6 separate regions of the Homo sapiens genome follow, and all the other regions are linked to region 1. Evidence: promoter capture Hi-C in 16 types of primary human blood cells and fetal thymus (Javierre and others, 2016). All regions are on one chromosome and are shown on one strand. Each heading gives the region's core, a stretch centred on a gene start or on the middle of the fragment in contact. The rest is flanking DNA. Distances are from core to core; before and after follow the strand shown.

The links. Contacts are between HindIII fragments. The CHiCAGO score rates a contact against its expected background, and 5 or more counts as called.
Region 2: a contact is called between a fragment that was not itself captured here and the fragment with the promoter of NPC1L1 in region 1, in 4 of 17 cell types (M1 macrophages, endothelial precursors, megakaryocytes and 1 more). The highest score is 8.1, in M1 macrophages.
Region 3: a fragment that was not itself captured here is called in contact with the fragment with the promoter of NPC1L1 in region 1 in 1 of 17 cell types (endothelial precursors); the score reaches 5.2 in endothelial precursors.
Region 4: a fragment that was not itself captured here is called in contact with the fragment with the promoter of NPC1L1 in region 1 in 1 of 17 cell types (endothelial precursors); the score reaches 5.8 in endothelial precursors.
Region 5: a fragment that was not itself captured here is called in contact with the fragment with the promoter of NPC1L1 in region 1 in 1 of 17 cell types (endothelial precursors); the score reaches 6.3 in endothelial precursors.
Region 6: a contact is called between a fragment that was not itself captured here and the fragment with the promoter of NPC1L1 in region 1, in 1 of 17 cell types (M0 macrophages). The highest score is 5.1, in M0 macrophages.

The regions. Positions count from the first base shown.
Region 1 is chr7:44,539,763-44,543,015 of GRCh38, reverse strand. It overlaps NPC1L1 (NPC1 like intracellular cholesterol transporter 1), which reads left to right and starts at 1,686. Exons shown (of 19, transcript NM_001101648.2): 1 at 1,686-1,810; 2 at 2,674-3,253. The coding sequence starts at 1,757. RefSeq lists an enhancer at 2,393-3,014. The HindIII fragment of the contact is 6,836 bases long and covers 1-3,253 here.
Region 2 is chr7:44,287,399-44,290,651 of GRCh38, reverse strand. All of the region lies in intron 1 of CAMK2B (calcium/calmodulin dependent protein kinase II beta), which reads left to right. Among named protein-coding and RNA genes, the nearest start is that of CAMK2B, 37 kb to the left of the region's middle. RefSeq lists enhancers at 205-706, 1,403-2,045. The HindIII fragment of the contact is 7,022 bases long and covers 1-3,253 here.
Region 3 is chr7:44,307,266-44,310,518 of GRCh38, reverse strand. The region is part of intron 1 of CAMK2B (calcium/calmodulin dependent protein kinase II beta); the gene reads left to right. Among named protein-coding and RNA genes, the nearest start is that of CAMK2B, 17 kb to the left of the region's middle. RefSeq lists enhancers at 428-1,029, 1,030-1,633. The HindIII fragment of the contact is 2,433 bases long and covers 279-2,711 here.
Region 4 is chr7:44,334,733-44,337,985 of GRCh38, reverse strand. No RefSeq gene overlaps it. Among named protein-coding and RNA genes, the nearest start is that of CAMK2B, 11 kb to the right of the region's middle. The HindIII fragment of the contact is 2,748 bases long and covers 174-2,921 here.
Region 5 is chr7:44,358,113-44,361,365 of GRCh38, reverse strand. No RefSeq gene overlaps it. Among named protein-coding and RNA genes, the nearest start is that of CAMK2B, 34 kb to the right of the region's middle. The HindIII fragment of the contact is 584 bases long and covers 1,162-1,745 here.
Region 6 is chr7:44,382,567-44,385,819 of GRCh38, reverse strand. NUDCD3 (NudC domain containing 3) reads left to right here. Exons shown (of 6, transcript NM_015332.4): 6 at 1-3,253. Among named protein-coding and RNA genes, the nearest start is that of CAMK2B, 59 kb to the right of the region's middle. The HindIII fragment of the contact is 1,804 bases long and covers 708-2,511 here.

The sequences.
Region 1 (3,253 bases), core at 437-2,936:
GCTCCAGGGGCTTAGCCTAGACAGCCCCCATGGGAAGAAACATATGAAAGGCAGGGTGGGCCTTTCATATCTTTGTTCTGACACAGCTCTGTGCATGCCGACAGTGTCTTCTTGTCGCAAGTGCCCACGGCCCTGCCTAAGGCCCTTTGACACTGAAGGTGCCCGCCACGTGCTGGGGCGAAATCTTCCAGGAATGTCCTCTACCAGTGACAGATGAATGTGGTGGAAAGCTGTCTGTGTCCTTATTCCTTGGAGGGGACCTTCTTGGGCACGTCCCCACCAGTTCCCGGAGGTCCCTGGGGGCAGGAGCAAGCTCTTGGATGCATTCTGGTCAGCTTTCTTCCATCCCCTGGCTCATTCCCCATTCACCGACTGCTGTCATCTGGGGTCATCTCCCCAATAAACTCTTTGCACTGGGATCCTTGTTTCAGGATCTGTTTCTGGAGGAACTAGATGACAACACCGGGAACAGAGGACCTAGAGAGGCAGCTTCATGGGTGGTGGGGTGTCCGCCTCTGCCGGCCAGGGACTTGGGAGCAGTGCTGGGAAGGTGCTGGATGGAGCTGTCACTCACAGGGGCAGGTCCTTGGCTGCTGACTGTCTTCCTCTCCACTATGGCTGTCTTGAGAACTTAGGGGTCAGCCTGACCCTGCCTTGGCCCCCTTCCTCTCAGCCTCTGTCTTCTCCTGCATGAGGCTGGGTGGCTCCCCTGTGAATCAGGCAGGGGTCCACAGAACACTAGAGACAGGTCCCTTCCTGCAGCTGTCTCCAGTAGGTGGCCACGCAGGAGATGTTCCCAACAAGCTGCCCTTATCTGCAGCTCAGCTTTGGTAATGGGGGCCCATTACCAAATGGGGGTAAAGGTCATGGCCCATCCTGGTGATAGTGAGAACCCAAGGTAGGCCTTGAAGATTCCTATCAGGAGGGAGCAGAAAGTGTGTACCACACCCCTGGGCCCAGGTGGAGCAGGGCTGCTGCTCAAGGCTCCCAGCCATGCTCTGTCCCTTGCTAGGGGTGACCGGTGGGACAGGCCTGGGCAAGGGACAAGAGGGAGAAGGTCGGGGGGAAGAGGGGATGAAGAGCAAAGTGAGCAAAGGAGAGTCTTCCACTATCTGGGGTCTCTGTCAACTGTCAGGCCCTAGAGTGAGCTGTTCTTTCCCTTTGCTTCCTGGAGGAGGGGACTTTTGTCACTGCGTCACTCCACCCTGCCTGCCCCTCCGTTATCAGGCTGTTAATATTAATTAACAACAGTTGCTAGGGATGACAGTGCAGAGGGTTCCTCTGAGCCCATTGCTGGCCCTGGTCCCAAGAGGGGGTAGGGCAGAGCTGGGGTCTGAGGCTGAGCCAGGGAGGGTGCGGAGGTTCCTCGGCCATGCTGAGCTCCTGAGGCCGGGTCCCAGCCAGTGCCTGGTCCCATCTGTGCCTCCAGGCCCTGGCACCAACTCCAGCAGTGTTAGGGGCTAATAGCGTGGTCTCTCCCCTAGCTGACTCAGCCCTCTGGCTTCGGTCGCTTTGGGAAGTGAGTGGAGACCCTAGCACCTGCGTGATGAGGCTCATCTAAAGCGGGGGCCTGTGGACTGGGGCCAAACAGTGGGAGTGGTGGATCATTAACCAGCAGGGCTCAGCCTCATTGGTCCCTAACCCAGTCAGGCCAGGGTTGTCATCGAAGGGGAGGAGGCTGCCTTAATGTGTGTTCAGCCCTTGGCTGTTCCTGAGGCCTGGCCTGGCTCCCCGCTGACCCCTTCCCAGACCTGGGATGGCGGAGGCCGGCCTGAGGGGCTGGCTGCTGTGGGCCCTGCTCCTGCGCTTGGTGAGTCCCAGGGCTTGGCTCCACCTCCCCTGCGGCCTCCAGTTAGGGACCCTGGGGCCAGCCGTGTACCAGGCGAGCGTTACTGGGTGACAGCAAGGGAGCCTCAGGGCCTGCGGGCTGGGCAAGTCTCTGGACACATGAGGGATGCCAGGCCCCACAGAGGAGGGGTGCAGGTGGAGGGTTTCCAGGTTACAGGCTTGAATGCACACAGGGGTGAAAGAGGCTGCTGGACTGGGGTGCTCCAAGTCCCTCCTGTCACTGGCCCTACTGTGGGGTCCAGGCCTGCAGTTGAGGGAGGTCTGAGGCAAGGAGGTGCTGGGATGGGGTTACCTGGTGAGCATCACCTAGGGAGGACTGAGCACTCTGGAGGCTGGGAGAAGATCCAGCGCTGGCACCTCTTAAGTTCCTCGCTTACTTTGTGTCTGGGAGGTGGGTGACAGCTTTTGGCCTCAAGCAGGTGGTGGTAGTGGTGGTGGGAGTCGGGGGGCCTCCTGAACAGACTCTCCATGAGAGACCCTGGCCTCTGGATGTGGTGTACAGTGTGGGGACTCAGGCTGACTTTGACGTGGGCAGAGCCCGGGACCTTGGAGTCAGCTTTGCCTCCTTACCCATCTCTGGCCTCTCCAGCATGACTTTCCTAAGCTGCAGGTCTATCAGGCCACCCCCAGGAAGAAAGGCCAGTGTTGTCACTCCAACACTGGCTGGCTGGCACATGCCTCCAGGAGGCTTCCTACTCCCCACACTCCCCGCTTCCCTGCCCCTGCTCCATGTCCTTCTTACCCTCACACCCTCCCTGGCTGCCTGCTGCCTGGATGGCACCCAGCTGTGTCAGGGCCCACGCGTGATGTTGCTGTGCTCTGCAGGCCCAGAGTGAGCCTTACACAACCATCCACCAGCCTGGCTACTGCGCCTTCTATGACGAATGTGGGAAGAACCCAGAGCTGTCTGGAAGCCTCATGACACTCTCCAACGTGTCCTGCCTGTCCAACACGCCGGCCCGCAAGATCACAGGTGATCACCTGATCCTATTACAGAAGATCTGCCCCCGCCTCTACACCGGCCCCAACACCCAAGCCTGCTGCTCCGCCAAGCAGCTGGTATCACTGGAAGCGAGTCTGTCGATCACCAAGGCCCTCCTCACCCGCTGCCCAGCCTGCTCTGACAATTTTGTGAACCTGCACTGCCACAACACGTGCAGCCCCAATCAGAGCCTCTTCATCAATGTGACCCGCGTGGCCCAGCTAGGGGCTGGACAACTCCCAGCTGTGGTGGCCTATGAGGCCTTCTACCAGCATAGCTTTGCCGAGCAGAGCTATGACTCCTGCAGCCGTGTGCGCGTCCCTGCAGCTGCCACGCTGGCTGTGGGCACCATGTGTGGCGTGTATGGCTCTGCCCTTTGCAATGCCCAGCGCTGGCTCAACTTCCAGGGAGACACAGGCAATG
Region 2 (3,253 bases), core at 416-2,915, 250 kb after region 1:
GCCAACACACAAATAAATACCAATTTGGTTTAGTTTCACCCACACAAGAAAAACACAAAGGTCCGCATGAGGTCAGCGGACTTGTGCCTGCTGGGGTGTCCCCAGCCCCTAGCCCAGGCCTCCTCATGGAGCCCACCTGGGGCCAGCCAGGCAAGAAAGGACGTAGGTGGCCTGAGGCTGGTTTCAGAACAACCCTTTATTAATTTACAGCAGGAAATAAAGCTGTCGGCCTGAGAGTGCTTCTGTGGCCGGCCCAGACTCTTCCAGAAGGACCTGCTCTGGAGGACCTGAGCGGGGAGGGGGCTGTGCTTGCTACTAGGGAGACAGCGCCTGGCCCGCGTGGGGAGCGTCAGACGCAAAAACTGGATGGGAAATTTCGATTTACAAAACAGGTCAGCCAGGCTTGGATCTTTTGCTTTTACTCAGGGCTCCTCAGCTTCTTTCTAAAATTCTAAAATTTAAGAACTTCCTGGAATTGCGTGTGGCCTTGCTGTGGATTGAAGGGGTCCCATGGCCCTTGGCTGTCACTGTTGTTGGGAATCTGAGGGGGCGTTTCCAGCCTATTCTGCAACATCTGAGTGAGGAGAGTGCACATGTGTGTGTGCGCATGCCTGTGAACTGCAACCGACCGGTGAGGCTCAGGACTGATGCAGGCAGCCCTGGCTGGGGTGGCACAGGCCCCAGCACTTGGGGAGGAAACTGGATGGTGTGGACATGGGCTGCGGGAGGCAGAGAGAGGAACAGGGAGAGAAGCTGCTGCCTCTGAAATTTCCACTAAGGGAACGGAATCCAAGCGTTGAGTGGGCCGACTCAGAGGCCGCTTTGATCCTGCGTGGCCCAGCGCTGCCCTGCGGGAGCTCAGCAGCCTGTCATGGGGATCACATGCACGATCACTCCAGGCGCCTGGGTCCCTGCCTATGCTGTCCTGGGAGCAGAATCACACTGCCGGCTCTTTCTGGATGCCGGATACTGTGTTGTGGCTGGTACCTGTGTCACCTCATTCTGTGTAGGGGGACAATCACTGCCCCCTTACTGATGGAAGTCACCAGCCCTTGTGAGGTGGCTGGGGAGGGCACCTGAGCAAGGTCTGCGTGACCACACGGGATAGGCTGTGGGGACGCAGGGTCCGACCTTCCCTCCCTGGTGTCGTTACCAAGTGTCTTAACTGGCACCCCAAGAGCCGGTAATCTTGGTAACCCCCAGTCTTCACCAGTGAAGGTGAGGCATGAGAGGGCCCTAGAGGGGCTGTTGTGTGGTCCTGCTGGGGGCAAGGCGAAATTTCCTTCCTGCTCTCTGGGCCCTCCCACAAACTCCAGCCATGCTGCTCAGGGACACACCTCCTCCCAGCTCTCCGGGGAGAGGTGCGGGCAGCTGGCGAGGGCCGCAGTGCGACCAGCATGACTTAGTGGAGAGTGGGGCAGGCCACAGAGCCACCTGCGGTGGGGAGCTCCGTGGGGGTTGGTGGGAGCCACGGATAGTCAGCAACTGGTGGCCGGTTGCAAGTGGGGACTGGAGGGAAGAGGCAGGCACGAGGGTTGGGGGGGCAGCTCAGAGCTGGGAAAGCCTGGGCCTGCACCAGCAGTCTGTTGTGGAGCCAGAGGAGCCATAGACTGGATGCGAGGAGGAGACAGAGGCGGATGGGGCATCCTGCAGACAATGACGCTTCCTGCTGCCTCTGCCTGTGAAGCCCCGAGAGCCCACAGGATGCCTGTGAAACACCGACTGCCCTGGGTGGCTGCAGTCAGGGGAGGTACACTCAGCACCTCTCCTCGCAGGTGGCCTTCACCCCATTATCGCGCGAGAAGCCTGAGCCCCCCTGCAATGAAGGAGGTGCCCGAGCAGGTGCAGTCGTAGAAACAGGCCATGTAGTTCCGGGCCTCCATTCCCACCCAGAACTAATTCTTCCCCTTCTCTCTCAGGACAGGTTTCCCTGGTACTGTTGATCCCACTGTAAATGAGACAGGGTTCAGAGCCTTCCACAAAGCAAGGACTCAAAGAGTATTTTCTTGTTTTAATTAGCTTTATTTGATTTTAAAAGCCCCATAATATGCTTGGTGCCCGGGGGCCTCATGATCTGAACAGGTTATTCAAAATCGCTTTCAGCCTGGCTCAGTAGCATTCGTCCCATGCAGGCCATCATGCGGGCAACCTTGATGTCTAGATGCAATTCGCAGCCCACAGGAACAGCGACCTGGGATCCCGTAGGAGCACCTCTTCCGGCTTTTTCCTGCCTTTGCCCCAACCCGCTGTGCCCTTACAGCTGCCTGGGATGGTCCACACCCTAGAGGCAGGCGTGTGATCAGCCTATGCACCTGCAGTGTCATCCAAGGCATTCTTTGCTGAGCCCAAGGACCATGCTGCCGCCTGCTAGGCCCGCCCGTGCTTCCAGATAAGAAGACCGGGCTTCGAGCCTCTGTGCGCTGGTGGAGAGGCGGGGAGCCTAAGCCCCAGGCCTTATTTACTTGGGGTACCCCCTGGCTCTGACCAGGGCCTTGTGGCCTCAGTGTAGCACAGACCCATCTACCCACAGGCCCTGGAAGCCTTGGTGGGTCTCCCCTCCTGCTGGGACACTCTAGGGGCCGCTCTTCCTGTACTGCTGGGCTGGACAAGCCCTGAGGCCCAGCAACTCCATGCTCCACAGCCCACTGTGTTGCTTGTAGGTCAGTTCTGGCTCCTATATCACAGCCCAGGCACTGTGCCTGATACCTAGGTCCAGAGTATAGGGCACTCTGCCCATAGAGAGCCATTGGAAGGGGGAGTGGCAAAAGTGAACAGGTAGATAATTAAGTAAACTAACCTAAGGAACGTGGGAGGTGCAATATCTAAAGACCAAGCTGACTTTCTGTGTGAGCTGGGAAAGCGGGGAGCTGTTTGCATTGGATCTTGAAGGACGCATAGGAGTTTGCCCTTGGCAGCAGGGACAGGCTTATGATACAGATCCAGGCTCTTTGTCGGTGTTGTCTCTCAATGTTTATAAACACTGGCGGGCAAGCACTGAGTCGCAAGGGAGTATGGTGATGGTGCTGGCTTCTTTGCTCTTGGAGAAGTCAGAGATGTTGGGCCCCCAGCCATGGCCTGCATGGCTCATGCTAAACATGTTTGTGGCCACTTCTCAAGAGGGCTGACACTTCCAAGGGGGCTTCCCGTGACAGATTGCCGTCTGGCAAGTGGCAGAACCACCAGGAAGGGGAGGAGACAGAGGTGGATCTGCAGCTGCCAGCCCAAGTTCCCCGGGGAGATGGCAGGATGGGTG
Region 3 (3,253 bases), core at 246-2,745, 230 kb after region 1:
CAAAGGACATTTTTAAAGGACATGATACATGGCCCCCTCCCACCGCGCATGACATAGCCACTGGGTTGTGTGGCCTTGGGCTGCCACGTAACTCTCTGGGTTTCAGCCTCCCCACTTACGAACCAGGAGGGTTGGGTCAAATGACTCTCTCCAGTCCCTTCCGGCCCCAGGAAGTGGTTCTGTGGAAGCCCCATTTCTTTCTTCTGAGACTTGCCCCAAAGCTCATCTCTCCCACATGCAGGTGACCCACAGTCTGATTACGTGGACATTTCTAAGCTTCCAAAATCCTTTTGCATTCCTTGAGAATAAAACTTTCGAAGGATGAAATCTGATTGATCTGAAACCAAACAAAAACCCGAGTACTTTAATTGATGCGCAGCTTGCAGGAAAAAAGCAGCAAGCGGGCACAAAGCGTATCCTAACTCCCAAAGCGCCCCCGCCCCCGCCCGGTCTCGGCCACCGTGCGGTTCCGCGCGTGGCTTGGTGAGCCTGGGGTCCCTGGCGGTGGCGCCCACGGCTCAGCCGGCGGAAAGGCTCTTCCCGCGTGTCCTTCGCGAGCCGCGCGGCCTCGGCCTGGTTCTGGCTGCTCAGGCGCGGTGACTACCCGCGGGCCGCCGCTCCAGGAGGGGCGTGACCGGCTCTTAAGCGCCGCCTTTGAAGGTCGCTGCAAGGCTGCGCGGACGGACGCCGAGTGCGGCCCCTACGGTGCTGGCGTCGGAATCTCTCTCGTCCCCAGTTTCTTCCGATGGGCTGGTGTCTCTGGCTTTTGGATCCACTCAGGTCCCACTGCTAGGGTGAGGGACTGACTGGTCCCCCGCGGGCGCTCCTGCCCGGGCGAGGAGGCTGTGTCCTTTCCACAGCTGGGACGCCGCGGGCGCAGAGTCCCGACCCCACCGCACTCCAGCCCACACCCGCACCCTGGGGTCAGAGGACTCCTCGGATGGGGACCGCTTCTGCCTGTCCTTCCCGAGGGCCCTCCCCATGCCCTGTGCTTAGGGGCGCGACGGAGCTGGGGACCTGATGTGGTCCAGGGCAGCCCCTGGACGTGCAGGAGGGAGATGGGGGCGCAGCAAGGGTGGGCCCCGGGGCTGGAGGCGCAGCCCAGCCCTCCTGCTCCTGCTGGCTCAGAGCTCGGGTACTCGGGCCGTCCTGAGAGCTCAGTGGCCTTAAACCCTCCGTCTGTGTCCCTTCTCCCGTCAGGCCAGGAGCGCAGATGGCCTGGGCCCCAGGTGGGTGGGCTGACCCCTGCCCCAGAGCCCGGCTTCAGCTGGGCAGCTGTGAACTGCCCCTTGTCCCAGCCCCCTGCAGGGAGGAGCACCAGCCTGGCTGTGGTGAGACCACTCTCTCCTCTCTGGGGCCTGGCCTGGTGCCCGCCCACTCCTCTGGGACAGTGCACAGCACAGTCGCAGTGGTTTGTGGAATCCGCGTTGGTGGTAGGAGCCTACTAGGCCAGGCGGGCAGTGCTGGGCAGGGCTCTGGGGTCCGTTTCAGCCTAGCCAGACCTGAGGACACAACCCCCCTGACAGGGCTAAGCCAAGCCAGGCTGGTCACCGCAGCTCAGTTCCCTCAGTGCCTTTGCTGGACCCTTCTGGGCCTTCCGGCTGGCAGGCAGTAAAGGGCAGGCTGGCCATGGACAGAGGCCCCGGGGAGGGATGGTCTGCTCAGCCCCTGGTCTCTTGTGAGGAGAGACGAGGGGCTCGCACACCGCCTGATGTGCAAGGCCTGCTGCTGGGCAAAGTGCCTTCTCTGTGCCTCATGGCCAGTCTTGGGGCTAGTGGTCTGCATTCCCTGAGTAGGACGGGGCCTTGCCCTCCGGACAAGGTGGGATATGGGGGGCCCGCACCTCCCTCTCTCTGTAATGTCACTCCTGCCTTCATCTTCCCAAAGTAGACACGTTGGTGGAACCTTGTCCTGCCCTCCGGGTGTCCCTGTGGATCCAGCTCAGAGAGGGCAGCAGTGTGGTTCTGAAGGGGATGACCAAGGAAGTGGGGGGATGCACAGGAGGAGGGCCAGCAGCTCCCAATCAGGGAAGGCAAGCTGTGAGGAGAGGAGGGGGACATGGGATGCGAGCCGGGGGCAGGGGGATGGGGACCCAGGAGCAGGACACCATGCTGGGCGCCACCACACACAGGCATGGGGCAGGCCCTGTCTCTCTTCCCCCAGCCACCTGGGCCTTCCTATCTGGCATCCTGGCTCCACCTACCATGGGCACTTCTTTCATCCCACAGCTCAGCTTGTCCCTGGAATTTCTCAGGTGAGAGTCAGGATGGCAGCTCCGGCAATTAGCCATCTGCACATCTGGATTTTAGGGGCAAAGAGGAGAAGAGACGTGCCTTGTGCTTAAAGTGTTCACATTCCTGTTAGGGAACAGAACAAGAACGTGCCTGCCCCATGCCTCCTGGGCACATCCCGTGTGGGTGAGGCCACAGCAGGCCCTCCCAGCATTTGGGCTACATGAGGTGAATGGGTGGTTTCCCTCATATGGAAAGAGCTCCTATAGGTCAAAAAGGCCTGGAATCCCAGCGCTTTGGGAGGCCCAGGTGGGAGGATCACTTAGGCTAGGAGATCAAGGCTGCAGTGAGCTGCAGTCACACCACTGCACTCCAGCCTGGGTGACAGAATGAGGCCCCCCAGTTAAAAAAAAATGGCCAAAACCCCAGTTGAAGTACGGATGACAGCAGCAACAGCTCACAGAAAAATAAATGAAAGCTTTCAGTGGGTAAAAACAGGAAAACAAATTCAACAAGGGTCAGCTCTCAGCGTTCCCCTCAGAGTTCCCACAGGCTCCTTCCAGGTGGCCCTAGGCTAATGGGCCACCTCCACCAGACTCTGGCTAAGCGCATCTCATGAGGCCAGGACCAAGGCCCTAGGACACAGGCACCGTAGCCTTGTCCCAGGGAGTAGGTTGGCCCCTGATGTGCGTGACAGCCTCTCCATGTGGGCAGGGGAGGAATTCCAAAGATGCAGTGAGCCCTGGCAGACCATTCCCAGTGCCAGGGGCCAGATGGCGCCAATGACACAGGAGGCCCCAGGCTGAGCCTCCTGAAACCCTCCTCTTCACACACCCTCCCCTGCTCACACCCTCCTCCCCCTGATCACACCCTCCTCCTTCTGCTTACCCCCTCTTCTCCCTGCTCACACCCTCCTCCCCCTGCTGACAACTTCCTCCCCCTGCTGACAACTTCCTCCCCCTTCTCACACCCTCCTCCGCCTGCTCACACCCTCTTCCCTCTGCTCACACCCTCCTCCCCTT
Region 4 (3,253 bases), core at 298-2,797, 200 kb after region 1:
TGTAGATCTCAGTTTCCATCTGGTATTATTTTCCTTGCCCTGGAGGATGTCCATAGCTTTGACTGTATTACAGGTCTTCTGTCAATGAATTCTCAGTCTTGTCTAAATGTCTTCATTTCAACCTTGTTTTAAAAGGGTATTTTTGCTAGATGAGTATCTTTTTGGTTGAAGCTTTTTTCCTTTCAGCACTTTCATGATGCCATTCAATTGTTTCTGCCTCCATTGTTCCTGGTGAGAAGTTGGTAATGATTCTTATACTTGTTTCCCTGTAAGTAATGTTATACCTCCCAGCAAACCCAGCTGCTTTCAGAATTTTCTTAGGTTTTCAGAACTGTGTGTCTGAGTGTTGTTATTTTTTCTGTTTATCCTGATTTGAGTTTATTGAGACTACTGGATATGTAAATTGATGTTTTTCATCAAATTTGGGATGTTTTGGCCATTATTTCTTCACATATTTGTTCTGCCCCAATTTTACTACACCTTTTCCTTTGAGACTCTGATTACGTATGTGTTAGATTATGTGATACTATTCCACAAGGTTCGCAGGCTCTATTCACTTTCCTTCAGCCTTTTTTCCTTGTGATCTTCAGATAATGTTTATTGATCTGTCTTCATGTTTATCGACTCTTCTACTATCTCCAATCTGCTATTAAGCCTTCCAGTGAATTTTTCATTTCAATTATTATACTTTTTAGTTTTAAAATTTGTATCCAGATACCATTTTGGGGCTGAGTTTTCCTATATACTCACTGATTAAGACTATATCTTACTTTAATTATTTGGACATATTTATAATCGCCACATTACAGTCTGCTAAGCCCAACATCTGGGTCATTTTAGATTAAGTTACTGTTCTATAGTCTGCTTTATTCTTGCCTGGGCATCACATTTTCCTATTTCCTTATATACCTGGCAATTTTTTTTAAAAATTGAATACTAGATTTTGTGGCTAATATATTGTGAAACTCAAAATTGTGTTAACTTCCTCTGAAGAATGTTGATTATTGTTTTAGTAGGCAATTTAATTATTGGCAGATGACTTTGAACTTCCTTACTTAGGGTTCATGTTTTGTTACTGCAGATGCACGGAACATCCAAAATGTTTCCTAAGCCTCTCTAATTTGGCATGACTCAGTTCTTCCCTTTGTATGTGCAGCTTAGTTGTCAGTCAAGGACTTGCAGAGCTCCTGTGTGGGGTTCTGGGACCCCTGCGTGCACAGCTCCCTCTTCTCCAATGCTTGGCTCCACGCATGCCCACTGCTCCCGCTGCTCCACCTCTTCAGCTCCACATGACCCCCGTGCCCTGCCCAGACTCCGGTGCCGTGTGCCACAGTCAGAAAACTCTGTCGGGGAGCACGGAGCAATCACGGGGCTCACCTCCTAAGCGTCCCTTCCCACAGGGATCTGAGTCTTGCACTCCCTGAAAACAGCTGCCTCACGTACTTTGTCCAGATTCATGGTTATTTTTGGTGGGAGGGCTAGTCTGGTAAAACAGCTAGAAGTGGAAGTCACAAGTGATTTTGGCTGGAGAAGGTGATGCTTGTTTCCACATCCAATTTGTCCATGCCCTCCTTGACCTACTGCAACCCAGCCTCTGGCGTTTCTCTGCCTGGAGACTTCTCGACCCAGCTTCCATGACACTCTTCTCTCCTGGATTTGCCCCCGCCCCTTTACTTGCTCTTTCTTTGTCTCCTTAATCACCCCTTCCTCAAACCATCTCCTTGATGCCGCCTCCCTCAGAGACCCCTTATGAGCCCTTTTCTCTCCTCCTGTGACACTCACTAGACTGCAACTCAATCCTTCCTTCTATTGATCATTCTCCCGCCTGTGCCTTCAATTCTTCTCTTTATCTTGGCCTCTAGGCCATATTTTCACTGATACTGCAGGTAGTGGATATTTAGGAGGCCCTTAAACACTACACTCCCTAATTGGAATTTAATATCTGTACCCCATACCTGTTCCTCCTTTTCGTTTTCCCTTTATCCTGCCATTATAGAAAAATAGGAGAGATCCATGCAGCCCCAGCCCCTCCACACTCACTTCTCACTTGCAGTAGGCCACCAAGTCCTGATTCTGAAATATTATTCCAAATGGATGTCCTCTAGCCCCCCGCCAATACATGATAGCTCCTGTTAGCACTGTTAGCATGGATAGTGGCTACAAAGCTGAGGTTGCTACATATGGAGTTTCCAGGGTGTGGTAAAACAGTAGTTAGGCCTGGCCCCCTAGCAATTTCTCTCTGGGGTCAGGGGGAAGTGTTGGGGAGGGGGAAGTTGAGGAGGGGTTTAGAAGATCCCTGGGAGCTTGTGGAGGGGACCCGGACCTACCCAATTCCTGCAGAGGCCCACAGTCCTGGTAGGAGGCTCTGAGGGAGAGCCACTGGGTAGAAACCTAAGTAGGTGGGAGGCAGGAGCTGTCCATTGCCCTCCAGGCCCCAGGGGCTGTGCTAGCATGAGGGGCACCCCAGCCTGGAGGTTGAGTAGCCTGGAGGTTGAGTAGGTTGAGTAGCCCATTATCAGGGCTACTTCAGGCTCTACCTGAGTCTGCTGGCTGTCATGCAGCTGGCCCCTGTGAGGGTCTGGGCCCACTGGCCAGCCTGCTGAGACGCCAGCCGAAGTCCTCCCTCCAGGTGTGTGGCAGATGCCCCGGCCAGGCCAGAGACTGAGGGGCATTCAGAGAGGGGTCACAGAAAAAAAAGAACAAGGCCACAGCCCAACCTGGCTGTGTTCACCTGAAGGGCACCACGTGCCCATACACTTCATGGGCCATTTATTCTTTCCTCCCTGGGAGTCCCCTTTTGTGACCATTCTGTATCAGAGTCCCTAAGTCTCAGTGGCCTGCCAGGCTGGGGATGTGGAGGTGGGACATGGGGGCAGGGACTGGGAAAGGGGGCAGGAGGGCTGTGTTCATTGTGCCAAGCTTCTGTGGAGGCTACAGAGGAGGGCCAAGTGCAGGCAGGAGCCCAGCAGGGCAAACGTGCCCCCGGACTGAGGCCCTGGCAGGAGCCCGGCCAGGCTGGGGCCACTCCACGCTGGGGGCCTCAGGCTCTACCACCGTCCCCTCCTCCATCCACTGGCTTTGCCAGGGTTACCAGGACTCCAGGACCAAGGGAGCGTCCAGCAACCGAGGGATGAGTGTCAGAGTGGGAGACCCTGAACTCCAGGCAGCGGGGGTCATCTCCAAGAAAGGGCCCCAAGGGCGGCGCCTGCTTCAGAGTCAACCGAGGGGAATCCCTGAAGGACAAGAGGGAGTG
Region 5 (3,253 bases), core at 204-2,703, 180 kb after region 1:
GCAACCCTGGGAACCCACACTTCTGCCATGGATCCTTCCATGGAGTCAAGGAGATCCCCTCATAAACTCACTCCACCAGGGCCTTCAGTCTGACACACAGAGCTACATGGAGTTTCAACAGAGCAGCCACTCAGGCACATGCAGAGACCCCGGAACCTTAGATACCTGGATTTTCTGGGCTCCCCGGCAAAAGCAGCTGCAACTCCAGCAAAATGGGAGGCTAGACCCCCATACATATCCCTAGGAAAGGGGCTGAATCCCGGAGGCTGAGCAGTGACAGTCTGCAGGCTCCCTTTCCATGGCACCTCACAGGATAAGACCCACTGGCTTAGAACTCCAGCCAGCCACCTGTAGCAGTGTTACACCTCCCTAAGATGGAGCTCCCAGGGGGAGGGGCAGGCCGCCATATTTGCTGTTTGGCCAACTTAGCCATTCCAGCCTTCAGACTTTGGAAGGTCCAAGGCAACTGTGGGCTAAATCAGATCCCCAGCATAGCACCGTAGCTCTATGAAAACATGCCAGACTGCTTTTTTAAAGCAGGTCCCTGATCCCATCCTCACTGGATGGGAACTCCCAAGTGGGGTCTCCAGCTATCCCCACCAGTGTCCCTTGGCTATCAGAGATTTCCAACCTCCCTGAGATGGAGTTCCCAGAGGGAGGGGCAGGTCTTCGTCTTTGCTGTTTGGGTGACTTAGCCGTTCTGCCCTTTGGGCTTTGGAGAGTGCAAGGTGACTGGGGGCTGGAGTGGATTCCCAGCACAGCACAGCTGCTGTATGAAAACATGGCCAGACTGCTTTTTAAGGCTGGTTTTTGATCCCATTCCTCCTCACTGGGTGGATTTCCCAACCAGGGTCTCCAGCCACCTCCTACAGGTGCGTTTGGGCTGGCAACAAGTCCGTACCTCTCTGAAACAGAGCTCCCAGAGGGAGGGGCAGGCTGCCATCTTTGCTGTTTCACAGCCTTCACTGTTGATACCTCCAGGTGCTGGAAAATCTGAGGTACCTAGGGACTGGAGCAGACCCCCAGCATATTGCAGCAGCCCTATGGAAAAGTGGCCAGACTGTTAGGTGGATGCTTGTTCCCACAGCTCCTCACTGGGTGGATCCTCAAGACCTGGGCCTCTAGCCACCTGCTGCTGGGGCTATCAAACCAGTGGAAGCTTTGCAACTTCCTGGACAGAGACCCTATGGGCAACTGAAAGCCTCTCTGCCACTGCCTCTGTAGTAGAACTGCCCTTGCCACCCTCAAACTAATGAAAGAGTAAAGACCATAAGTGCTTTATCCACACCTCTAACAAGGTACAGTTGACCCAAGAAGAGGAGGCCAGTCTGTCTCCCATGGGTTCCACCTCCCCATCCCCACTCATCACCAGACCAGGAACCCCCAGCTTGGGACCATAGCACAGACCCTCCATCCTGGGATGATTGCACTGAATGACTGCTGACTTACATCTCTCTGGGGCGGAGCCCCCAGGAAACAAGCAAAAGACTGTTGGCCACAACCACTACTAAGATCCCTTCCTCTGCTGCCTCCAAGGTGGGGGAGGAACATAAATCCTGAGATTGCCCCAGAACTGCAGCAGGCAGCCCAGGAGTGCCAAGCCATGATCCAGCACTCAGAGGGGAGAGGAACCCATGCTTTCAGAGCATTGAAACTGTGAGGAAACAGGGGAGCCACACAACCCAGCAAGTGTCTACCAACTGACCAATACACCAAAGCACCACCTACTGGATCACTCCAAAGCTTCAACACCAAAAATACCTCGCTAACATACCTCTTGTGAAACCAAGAACAAGAAGTCAGCTTCAAATAAAGACCCTGCACAAAGCCTTGGCCCTGTGAAAACATCCAGAAAAGAAGTTTATTGACTACTCAATCTACACTGCAGCTAAAGGAACACCCACATGCAGAGATGAGAAAGAACCAATGCAAGAACTGTGGTAACTCAAATGGCCAAAGTGTCATATGTCCTCCAAACAACCGCACCAGGTCTCCAACATGAGTTCTTAGCCAGGCTGAGCTGGCTGAAATGGCAGAAATAGAATTCAGAATATGGCTAGGAATGAAGATCATTGAGATTCAGGAGAACAGCAAAACCCAATCCAAGGAAACTAATAATCACAATAAAATGATACAGGAGCTGAAGGATGAAACAGCTAGTATAAAAAGAATGTAACAGATCTGACAGAGCTGAAAAAACACAATACAAGAATTTCACAATGCAACCCAAGTATTAATAGCAGAATAGACCAAGCTGAGGAGAGAATCTCAGAATTCAAAGAATAGCTGTCTGAAATAAGATAGACAAAAATAAAGGAAAAGGAATGAAGAGGAATGAACAAAACCTCCAAAAAGTATGGGATTATGTAAAGAGGCCAAATCTATGAATCACTGGCATCCCTGAAAGGGAGGGGGAGAAAGCAAACAACTTGGAAAACATATTTCAAGATATCACCCATGACAATGTCCCCAACCTTGATTGAAATGTCAAGAGTCAAATGCAGGAAATACAGGGAACTTGCAAGATTCTACACAAGAACATCATCCCAAGATACATAATCATCAGATTTTCCAAGGTCAAAATGAAAGAAAGAATGCTAAGGGCAGCTAGAGGGAAGGGGCAGGTCACCTACAAATGGAACCCCATCAGGCTAACAGTGGACCTCTTAGCTGAATCCCTACAAGCCAGAAGAGATTGGGGGCCTATATTCAACATTCTTAAAGAAAAATATCTTCAACCAAGAATTTTATATCCTGCCAAACTAAGCTTCCTAAGCAAACGGGAAATGAGATTCTTTCAGATAAGCAAATGTTTAAGGGATTCATTACCAGCAGACCTGCTTTATAAGAGAACTTGAAAGGAGCACCATATATAGAATGGAAAGACCACTACCAGCCAATACAAAAACACACTTAAATACACAGACTGGTGACGGTATAAAGCAACCACACAAACAAGCCAGCATAACAGCAAGCTAATAACACAATGACAGGATCAAATCCACACATATCAATACTAATCTTAAATGTAAATAGACTAAATGCCTCAATTCTCTTAAAAGGCACAGAGTGGCAAGCTGGATAAAAAAGCAAGACTCAATGGTATGCTGTCTTCAAGAGGCCTATACCACACGTAATGACTCCCATAGGCTCAAAATAAAGGGATGGAGTAAATTCTACCAAGCACATGGAAAACAGAAAAAAGCAGGGGTTGCAATCCTAATTTCAGACAAAACAGACTAAACTAACAAAG
Region 6 (3,253 bases), core at 360-2,859, 160 kb after region 1:
CTGCTATGTGGTGGCCGCTGTGGCTGACACTGAGTGAAGGTGTTTGAAATGCAGGAGAGGATATCCCAGCAAATTGGGATCACATGCTTTTGTCTCCACAGCAACCAGCCACTGCAGGCAGCATGTCTTTCCTCCCCTGCTCTCTGCTTGCTGTTGTTTTGACGCTATTCTGCTTGCATGTCTTCTGGTTGGGATGTGGAGTTGTTGCTGGACTCTCAGGCGAAGCTGAAGTCATTGAAGTGTGTGAAGCTCTGTGCTTGCATGAGGGCAAGCAAGGAATGGCTGTGCCTGAGGCTGCTCTGGGAAACTCCTTGCCCCTTGACCTCTTTTGAGAGCATTCACGTGGTCTTCTTGCTCATCCCCTTATAAATGTGCTTTGCCTGCCTCAGCCTCATGGTCAGAGCAGTGGAGACTGGAGCCCTGTTTGCACGTTCTAGTTGTTCGGAGAAAGCCTAGGTTCTGGGCTCAGGTCCAGATGCAGCGGGGATTCTGTTCTCTGACTGTGGCGACCTTGCTTTGGTTCTTGTTGAAGTGAACCAAGCCCGGCCACCACGCATGGCATGCTGTGCTTGGCTCCCCATAAGACGTCCTCTTTGGGTGCACGGTGTCAAAGTGTGGGCAGGAGTGGAGAGCTGGTGCCCTCAGGAGGAGACCACAGCATGTCCATCAGCTCAGCAGAGCTCGACAGCCACAAGTCCTGAGAAGCTTTGACCTTGAAGGGCTTCTGGGAGAGGAGGAATTTCTGCATGGGGCGTGAAGGCACACTGTCCCACCACAACTGAACCAGAAGAGAGTGAAGACTCCCCTCTTCCCATCCTCTGTGCCAGGTGCCAGACTGTGCTCCTTGGAACTTATGGCCCAATCTTACCTGTTCTCCAGGGACTGGTCACTGCCTCAGGACCCCCAAGCCTATGCCCTGAGCCATGGCTGCTGACTGACTCCAGCCAAGGTGCAAAGACGAGATTATGAGACAGGTCCTCAGGCCTGTGTTCCAAGTACTCACAGGGGCTCTGGGTGCCCATCGCCGGGAGTATGGTTCAGCTGCCACCGGCACTGTCCATTTGCCTGTCTGTCAAGCTCAGAGCATGGATAAGCCACACAGCAGGGCAGTGCACCCTGGCACCATGCACGGCCAGCAAGAATCAAGGCCCGCAGATGCTAAGAGGGCCTATTGTCAGGGGAAGGTCCCCGCTCCTGCACACTCTCTATGGATACTTGGGTTGTGGGGGCTCTCTTGGAGAGTAAGTTTGTGGTTTGTTTCTGGTTTACAGTGGTGGCTGACACCCCTTGTAAGAAAGCATTCCTGGGAAGTCTTCTGTGGGTCCAAACATGTTGCTCCGATCATCACAGGAGAGCAAAAGGCCCTAGATACCCCCTTTGGAATGTGAGAGTCTTGTTGTCTGATATTTGCCACTGAGCTGGTGAAGCCCCTCTAAAGAGATCTCGACCCTGGGGAGCAGAATTCTTGTCATCTATGAGGGGTCCTGAGAAAGACTTGTCATTTTTTTTCCTGGAGTTCTTCCCATTGAGGTCCTAGGATTTGCACACCACTGTCCCACAAGAGCTTTCCTGCCTAATGAAAGGAGGTCTTGTGGTGTGTGTCTCCTCTCTTCTCTATAGTTCCCGAGTTGGCCCCCATTGCAGCCCCCACCCTGTGGGTAGTCTTCCAGAAGTGATGCAGTGGTGTGAGATGCCCTACACCTTGTTATTTGGGAGACTTTGAGAGTCATTCACTTCCATGGTGACTAGTGTTTGTTTTGCCTGATTTTATATTCTGTGTTGCATTTCTCCCCACTCCCTGCCCTGCTTTAATAAACAGCAAACCAATATCTAGGAAGAATGACTGAGGGATAGTATTGGGTATTGGCCCCATGGCAGGAACAGCCACTTGCATCTGGTCCCGGTGCCACACTGCGGTGCTTGGTGTGGTTGTGGAGCCTGTCCCTGCGCGCCTTGCTCCCGTTGAGCCACGCTGTCTGGTGGGTGATTCTCTGCCCTGAGCCACCACCCTGGACTGGCCCAGTCTCCAGAGCTGGCACACCCTGCCTGTTTTCTCTTTTTAGACACAACAGCCGCAGTTTGGCCAGCCACTAAGTCCCACCAGCTGAGGTCCGAGGAAAGCGGGGTGACTCATTTCCCTTGTCCAGGGCCCGAGGAGAGTGAGGTGTCCAGCCTGCAAAGCTATTCCAGCTCCTTGGTGTTGGTTTGCAATAAATTGGTATTTAAGCAGTTCTGGGTCTGCGTGTGACATTTGCTGCTGAGACAGTTCTGTCTGTGCATGGTCATTATTGTTGCATTCTAGCCTTGAGGTCCCAGGCCAACGTACACAGCAAACACCAGCATGGGGAATTCTTAGGGGTTGTTTCCCATCTGGTCTGAATGCACTGGGCAAGATCTCAATACAGCTTTAGAAATCCTGTAAGATTTTGACCAGTGGGGAGAAAAAGAATGTAGCTATAGATCTTACATCCTTTCAAACAGGTTCTGGAATTCTGTAGTTACTGGAAAGCTTAGGGTGAGTGCAGAGTTGGGAATGATTCCACTGAAGGGCCACCTTTGCCCACCAGGCTCCAAGGCCCTCCTTGGTCTCCAGGTGCATACCTGCTGTTAACTTTGCTGAGCCCTCGCAATGGGCTTCCTCCAGGACATAACGCCGTGTCTGACACAGAAGTCTCCCAGGTGGCTGGCCACCTGCTTCTTCCTCAGTCAGATCTTTGACTCTCCTTCTCTGTGCCCACCCCATCTCCAGCCTCCTCTGACCCTGCTCACCCCTGGGGACAGGACCTAGGGGTGTGAGAAGTACTTGGCTGAATAAAGACTGTTTCAAAGGCAATCCTTAGAATTGCCTAGCATACTCCCAGGGCCAGAAATAACCCGCCAGAAAGGAGAGGCGTATTTGCCCCTGAAGAGTGCAGGAGGGAGAACAGTTGAGAAGTGTTTTGTGTGGAAATGTGTCCAAGAGGCGTCAGCTGCTGCACAGAGAACTCACTGCCCAGAACACTGCGCTTGGGGAACAGACCTCACCCCCACCTCAAATCTGCTCTCCACTGGGCCTGTTGGCAGCCAGCTCAGCTGGGGAAGGGACAGCATGACTCGCTTTGTCGATGAAAAGCACGAAGTTGTCAGCACAGAACCTGGCCAGTCCTTGAGAAACTCCCTCCTTGGTGGTCAGAGGTCAAGCAGCCCATGTGGCCCACGGTCCTGAAGAACTGGGCTATGTCCCTGAGGCTCCTCTCTACCGTCTGACTGTGGG